Linked DNA regions of Homo sapiens: region 2 is linked to region 1. Evidence: promoter capture Hi-C in human tissues and cell types (Jung and others, 2019). All regions are on one chromosome and are shown on one strand. The core of a region is centred on a gene start or on the middle of the fragment in contact, and the rest is flanking DNA. Distances in the headings are between cores, read along the strand shown.

Evidence for each region. The method cuts DNA at HindIII sites, captures the fragments that hold promoters and counts their contacts. A contact is called where the count stands out against the background at its distance.
Region 2: a contact is called between a fragment that was not itself captured here and the fragment with the promoter of RCE1 in region 1, in 1 of the 25 tissues and cell types used here (liver).

Annotation. Positions count from the first base shown.
Region 1 is chr11:66,842,113-66,844,808 of GRCh38, reverse strand. It overlaps RCE1 (Ras converting CAAX endopeptidase 1), which reads right to left and starts at 1,368. Exons shown (of 8, transcript NM_005133.3): 1 at 1,169-1,368; 2 at 948-1,050; 3 at 770-853; 4 at 445-523. The coding sequence starts at 1,353. TOP6BL (TOP6B like initiator of meiotic double strand breaks) reads right to left here. Exons shown (of 15, transcript NM_001302084.2): 14 at 1,740-1,960; 15 at 1,293-1,640. The coding sequence ends at 1,575. RefSeq lists an enhancer at 791-1,497 and silencers at 1,138-1,577, 1,688-1,827. The HindIII fragment of the contact is 26,172 bases long and covers 1-2,696 here.
Region 2 is chr11:66,171,627-66,174,322 of GRCh38, reverse strand. All of the region lies in intron 1 of PACS1 (phosphofurin acidic cluster sorting protein 1), which reads right to left. Among named protein-coding and RNA genes, the nearest start is that of KLC2, 85 kb to the left of the region's middle. The HindIII fragment of the contact is 8,093 bases long and covers 1-2,696 here.

The DNA.
Region 1 (2,696 bases), core at 119-2,618:
GGCTCCAAGGGCTCCTCTCCCACAACTTTACCCTGGCCAAACTCAGGTTAGGCATCAATACTGCTGAGGACGGGGGTGTGGACCCAACATAAACCCAATGTCTTGAGATGACCTGAATGGAAGGCATTAGCTGAGGCAAGGGCATCCTGGAAGTAAACTCTGGAGACACCAAAATTTAAGCAAGACTAGCTCTGGTTGGGGAAGCAGGGGACAGTGCTCTCTGATCCACACCAAATACTGCTGGGGGTTCCCAGGGAACTCCTTGGACGTTGGCAATCAACCCTTAGAGGCCACCTAGCTCTATGTTTCCATTTTACTGATGAGAAAACACACCCAGAGAGATGACATTTCACGTGTCCAGATCACACCCTGAGCCCGCTGACTCCCTGCCCCAATGTCCTGGACTGCCTGTGCCTACTTTTCCCTTCAGCCTTTAAGACTCACCCAGGACAACCTTCAGCCCATCTGCCAGGTCACAAGGGCAATCCATAGAGAGCTGCATCAGTGGGCCCAGGAAAAGAATCTGAGGGCAAGAAAACACTTTCACCATAACCCACCGCTTTTGCCCAGACCTTTGCCCATGCTCCCTGAGACTCCAAGCTTGAAATCCTCTCCAGCCACGATTTCCAGACCATGCATACCGGAGGACCCTGGGGCCATCTCAAAAGTCCTGTCTCCCATCAACCAAAAACCAAAAACAAGAGTCCACGGCACTGCCCATCAGGCTGATAACAAAGACCAGAAGAAAAAATACAGCAGGAGCACTCACCATGGTCAGCAACAGGGGCAGCAGCGCCGCTGGGAAAATGCCCTCCAGCCTGAAGCCCATCAGGGTGAGCAGGGATGTGCCTGGCTGAGCCACAGGAAAGGGGGCATCAGTTTTGCTTCCTCCCCTAAAGACCCCTGAGCTCTCACCGCCGTTGCCCTTTGCCCCGCCTCCTTCGCACCTGGATGCCTGTGAGTTCCCTCCAGAGCAGCACGCACAGGGGTGAGAGACTGGACACCACCAGGACGCTGGTGAAGCGTCGCTTGATGACCGCGGGATGGTCCCTACGGAGGGGACAGTAAGTTCAGGGGGCCCGCGGCTGCCCATGAGCACGGACCCGCCCCCGGCTCGCCCAAGCTCCGCCCGCAGGGCGCGGATTCCGGTCGCGCGCAGCCCCCGCACCTGGGCAGTTCGCTCTTCCAGACGTAGAGGCTGCCCACGTAGGAGCAGGCGAGGCTGAGGCAGGAGAACACTGACACCCAGCAGCACAGCCCGGGGCCCAGGCCGCCCAGCGCCGCCGACTCGGGCGGCCGCTCCGGCCGCGACACCGACAGCAGTCGCAGCCCATCCCCGCCCAGCGCCGCCATTGCGCCCTGACCCGCGGCGCGCACCAGTGACGCAGTCCCAGGGAGGTGTGGGTGACGTCAGGCCGCGGCGCGGCTCCACGCCCCGCCCCGCCCCGCCCGGGCCCGACGCGGAAGCAGACGCGGAAGAGGACTTGGTGAGCGCGCGGCAGCTTTATTAAACCACGGGATAACGGCTGCCCGCAGCCTCCGGATCGGTGGGCGCTTGCGGAAGGGGACCCGGCTCAGGGCCCAGGGCTGGGACTCAGCCACTCTGACAGGTTGGAGACCTCCTGCAGCCACAGCACGTCCTGCGGGAACAAGGGGGCCCGGGGTGAGGACCTCTCAGCAGCGGCCCGTGGCCTGCACCTCCTGCTGAGCCCTTCCCTGCGCGGCCCTCGCCCAGTTACCTCCAGGCGGCTTCCGAGGCTCGCCCTGCCCGGCGCCAGGGCCCTGCCGTGAGCCTCGCGGTGCTCCCTTCCTCTAGGAGTGAGGGGGGCCGCGGTGGCTTCCGGGCGGCGCGGGGCGGCCTCTGACGGGCTCGGGGCCCTGGCAGAGCGCAGAGCTCGCATCTCCTCTATGCGGGGGCTGCCCCTCTTGAGCCTCTTGTTTTCTGCTTGCCCGCTGGTATCTAGGAGAAAAACAAGCCTCTTCATCTTACTTTCATGGCCCTGTGCTAGGAGCACCCTTGGCCAAGGGGAAGCCTGGGAGAACGGGCGCCGAGGGGCTCTTCCCACCGCATCCCTGTCAGCAGGTCCCATCCACACCAAAACCCTGCAGCTGTGGGCGCTTCTGGAGCAGCCCGAGGCTGCAGAGACGTTTCAGGGTCTCCCTATTCTCTCACCCAGGCGGGAGATTGTCCCGAGCCCTCACTTGGGGGACTCAGGCCGCTCAGTAACTTTCTGTATAGATTCTTCCTGGAGTCTGCACTGACAAGCTCCCCTCCCTGCCAGCCTCTGTCCCCCCTCACCTTTCTGGCCTCAGTTCTGTCTCCCTTTGTTGCTCACGTTGCATTGAGCAGTGCCCATAGGCAGCTTTCCTACTCTTAACTGATTCATTTGTCAAATTAAAGCGAGTTTAGATGGATAGATTCTTCCCCAGCAGGTCTTGGGGATGCAGATCAATGAGCTTTTCCCTGAGAGAAGCTCACAGATGCTAGGAGGGGATGCAGACCTGTGTACAAAGCCCAGGGTTAGAATAGAGAAGGAAGCCGACCACCTCTGGATGTGAAGAAGGGTTTCCATGAGGAGATACCTGAGCTGACCTTTTGTTTTTTTGAGACAAGGTCTTGCTCTGTTGCCCAGGCTGGAGTGCAGTGGCTCAGTCCTGGCTCACTGCAGCCTCGACCTCCTGGGCTCAAGCGATCC
Region 2 (2,696 bases), core at 131-2,630, 670 kb after region 1:
TACCAGCAATGTATGAGGGTTCTTGTTTCTCTATATCCTCACCACCATTTATTATTGTCTGCTTTTCTGATTAAGGTCATTCAGTAAGTGTTATCTTATTACGGTTTTTTGATTTTTTTGTTATTTTATTTAATGTGGTTTTAATTTGGATTTCCCTCGTGACTAATTTGCCTTTCTCAAGCGACTAATGATTTTGAGCATCATTTCAAGTGTTTATTTGGCATATCTTCTTTGGTAAAATCTCTATTCAAATCTTTTGCCTTTTTTTTTTTGAGACAGAGTCTTGCTCCGTTGCCCAGCTGGAGTGCAATGGCACGATCTCGACTCACTGCAACCTCCACCTCCCAGGTTCAAGTGATTCTCATGCCTCAGCTTCCTGAGTAGCTGGGATTACAGGCGCGTGCCACCAGGCCAGCTAATTTTTGTATTTTTAGTAGAGACAGGGTTTCGCCATGTTGGCCAAGTTGGTCTCGAACTCCTGACCTTAGGTGTTCTGCCCACCTTGGCATCCCAAAGTGCTGGGATTACAGGTGTGAGCCACCACGCCTGGCCCGAATCTTTTGCCCATTTTTAAACTGAGGTGTTTGTTGAGTGTTAGGTTCTTTTTCTTTTTGAGATGGAGTTTCGCTCTGTCGCCCAGGCTGGAGTGCGGTGGCATGATCTTGGCTCTCTACAACTTCTGCCTCCCGGGTTCAAGCGATTCTCCTGCCTCAGCCTCCCAAGTAGCTGGGATTACAGGCACACACCACCATGCCCAGCTAATTTTTTGTATTTTTTAGTAGAGACAGGGTTTCACCATGATGGCCAAGCTGGTTTCGAACTCCTGAGCTCAAGTGATCCGCTTGCCTCGGCCTCCCAAAGTGCTAGGATTACAGGCGTGAGCCACTGCGCCCGGCTGAGTGTTAGGTTTTTTACATAGTCTAGATACAAGTCTTTTATTTGACAATGGACTTTTAACAGCAATAATGGAACTCAGAAGAAAATAAAAAATGTCTTCAATATGCTGAAAGAAAATAATTGTGAATACAGAATTGTATATATAGATAAAATATATTTTAGGAATGGGCATTAATTAAAGACATTTTCAGATGGCTGGATGTGGTGGCTTATGCCTGTAATGTCAGCACCTTGGGAGGGTGAAGTGGGAGGATTGCTTGAGCCCAGGAGTTTAAGACCAGACTGAGCAACATAGCAGGACCCTGTCTCTACAAAAAAAAACAAAAAAAAAAAACCAAAATCAAAAAACATTTTAAGATAAAAACAGAGTTTACTACCAGAATACTCTCACTAATGTATATTAATTACTGCTGTGTAACAATACTGATAACACTTTTTTTTTTTTTTTTTTGAGACAGAGTCTCGCTGTGTCACCAGGCTGGCGTGCAGTGGTGTGATCTCAGCTCACTACAACCTCCGCCTCCCGGGTTCAAGCGATTCTCCTGCCTCAGCCTTCTGAGTAGCTGGGACTACAGGCACGCGCCACCACGCCCAGCTAATTTTTGTATGTTTAGTAGAGACGGGGTTTCACCATGTTGGCCAGGATGGTCTCGATCTCTTGACCTTGTGATCTGGCTGCCTCGGCCTCCCAAAGTGCTGAGATGTGAGCCACCGCACCTGGCTGCAAAACACATTTATTATCTCACAGTTTCTGTGTGTCAGAGATTCAGAAGCAGCTGGGCTAGGTGGTCCTAGCTCAGGATCTCTTGTGAGGTTGCCATCCAGTTGGTGGCTGGGGCTACAGTCACTTGAGGGGGCTGCAGGATCTGCTGCCCGTGTGGCTGCCTTGCAAGGCTGGCAAGTTTGTACTGGCAGTTGACAGGGAGCCTCAGTTCCTCTCCACATGGAATCTTCCCAGGACTGCTTGATAACCTCATGACATGGCAGCCGGCATCCCACAGTGAGTGGCCCAAGAAAGAGCAAGGCAAAAAGGTGCAACGTATTTTATGACCCAGCCTCAGAAGTCACGCTCCATCACTGCTGCAACGTTCCAATGCTTACACAGGTCAGCCCTCTTCGGTGTGGGCGTGTGAGTCACAGAGAGCCACAGTCATAAGGGAGACCGTGGAGGCTGGCTCACACATTTCATGAAGTGTCTTAAGGATATACCGTAAAAGTAAGGAAAGGTCCCAGAAAGAAGATCAAGGATAGAAAAATAAATGATGGACAAAGAAAACTGTAAAAATATAGGGAAATTTAAACAAACATTGCTTTTATAAAACAAGAATGGCAATGTCTGATTTACGCACAGTAAACGGTACGGCAAGCGTGGTGGGAGGAACTGACTGAATTAAAGCATTTTTTAGGGCCTTTAATTGTTTCAGAAGAGAATGGAAATTGACTAACTTTAAACTCTTAAGTATTCACATTCAAAGCTTGAGAGTAAACTAAGAAAATAAAAGTTGAATGTCTATCTTTCGAATGCATAGTTTAGAAAAATGGAATGAGGCCGGGCGCGGTGGCTCAAGCCTGTAATCCCAGCACTTTGGGAGGCCGAGGCGGGCGGATCACAAGGTCAGGAGATCGAGACCATCCTGGCTAACATGGTGAAACCCCGTCTCTACTAAAAATACAAAAAATTAGCGGGGCGTGGTGGTGGGCGCCTATAGTCCCAGCTACTCGGGAGGCTGAGGCAGGAGAATAGCGTGAACCTGGGAGGCGGAGCTTGCAGTGAGCCGAGATTGCGCCACTGCACTCCA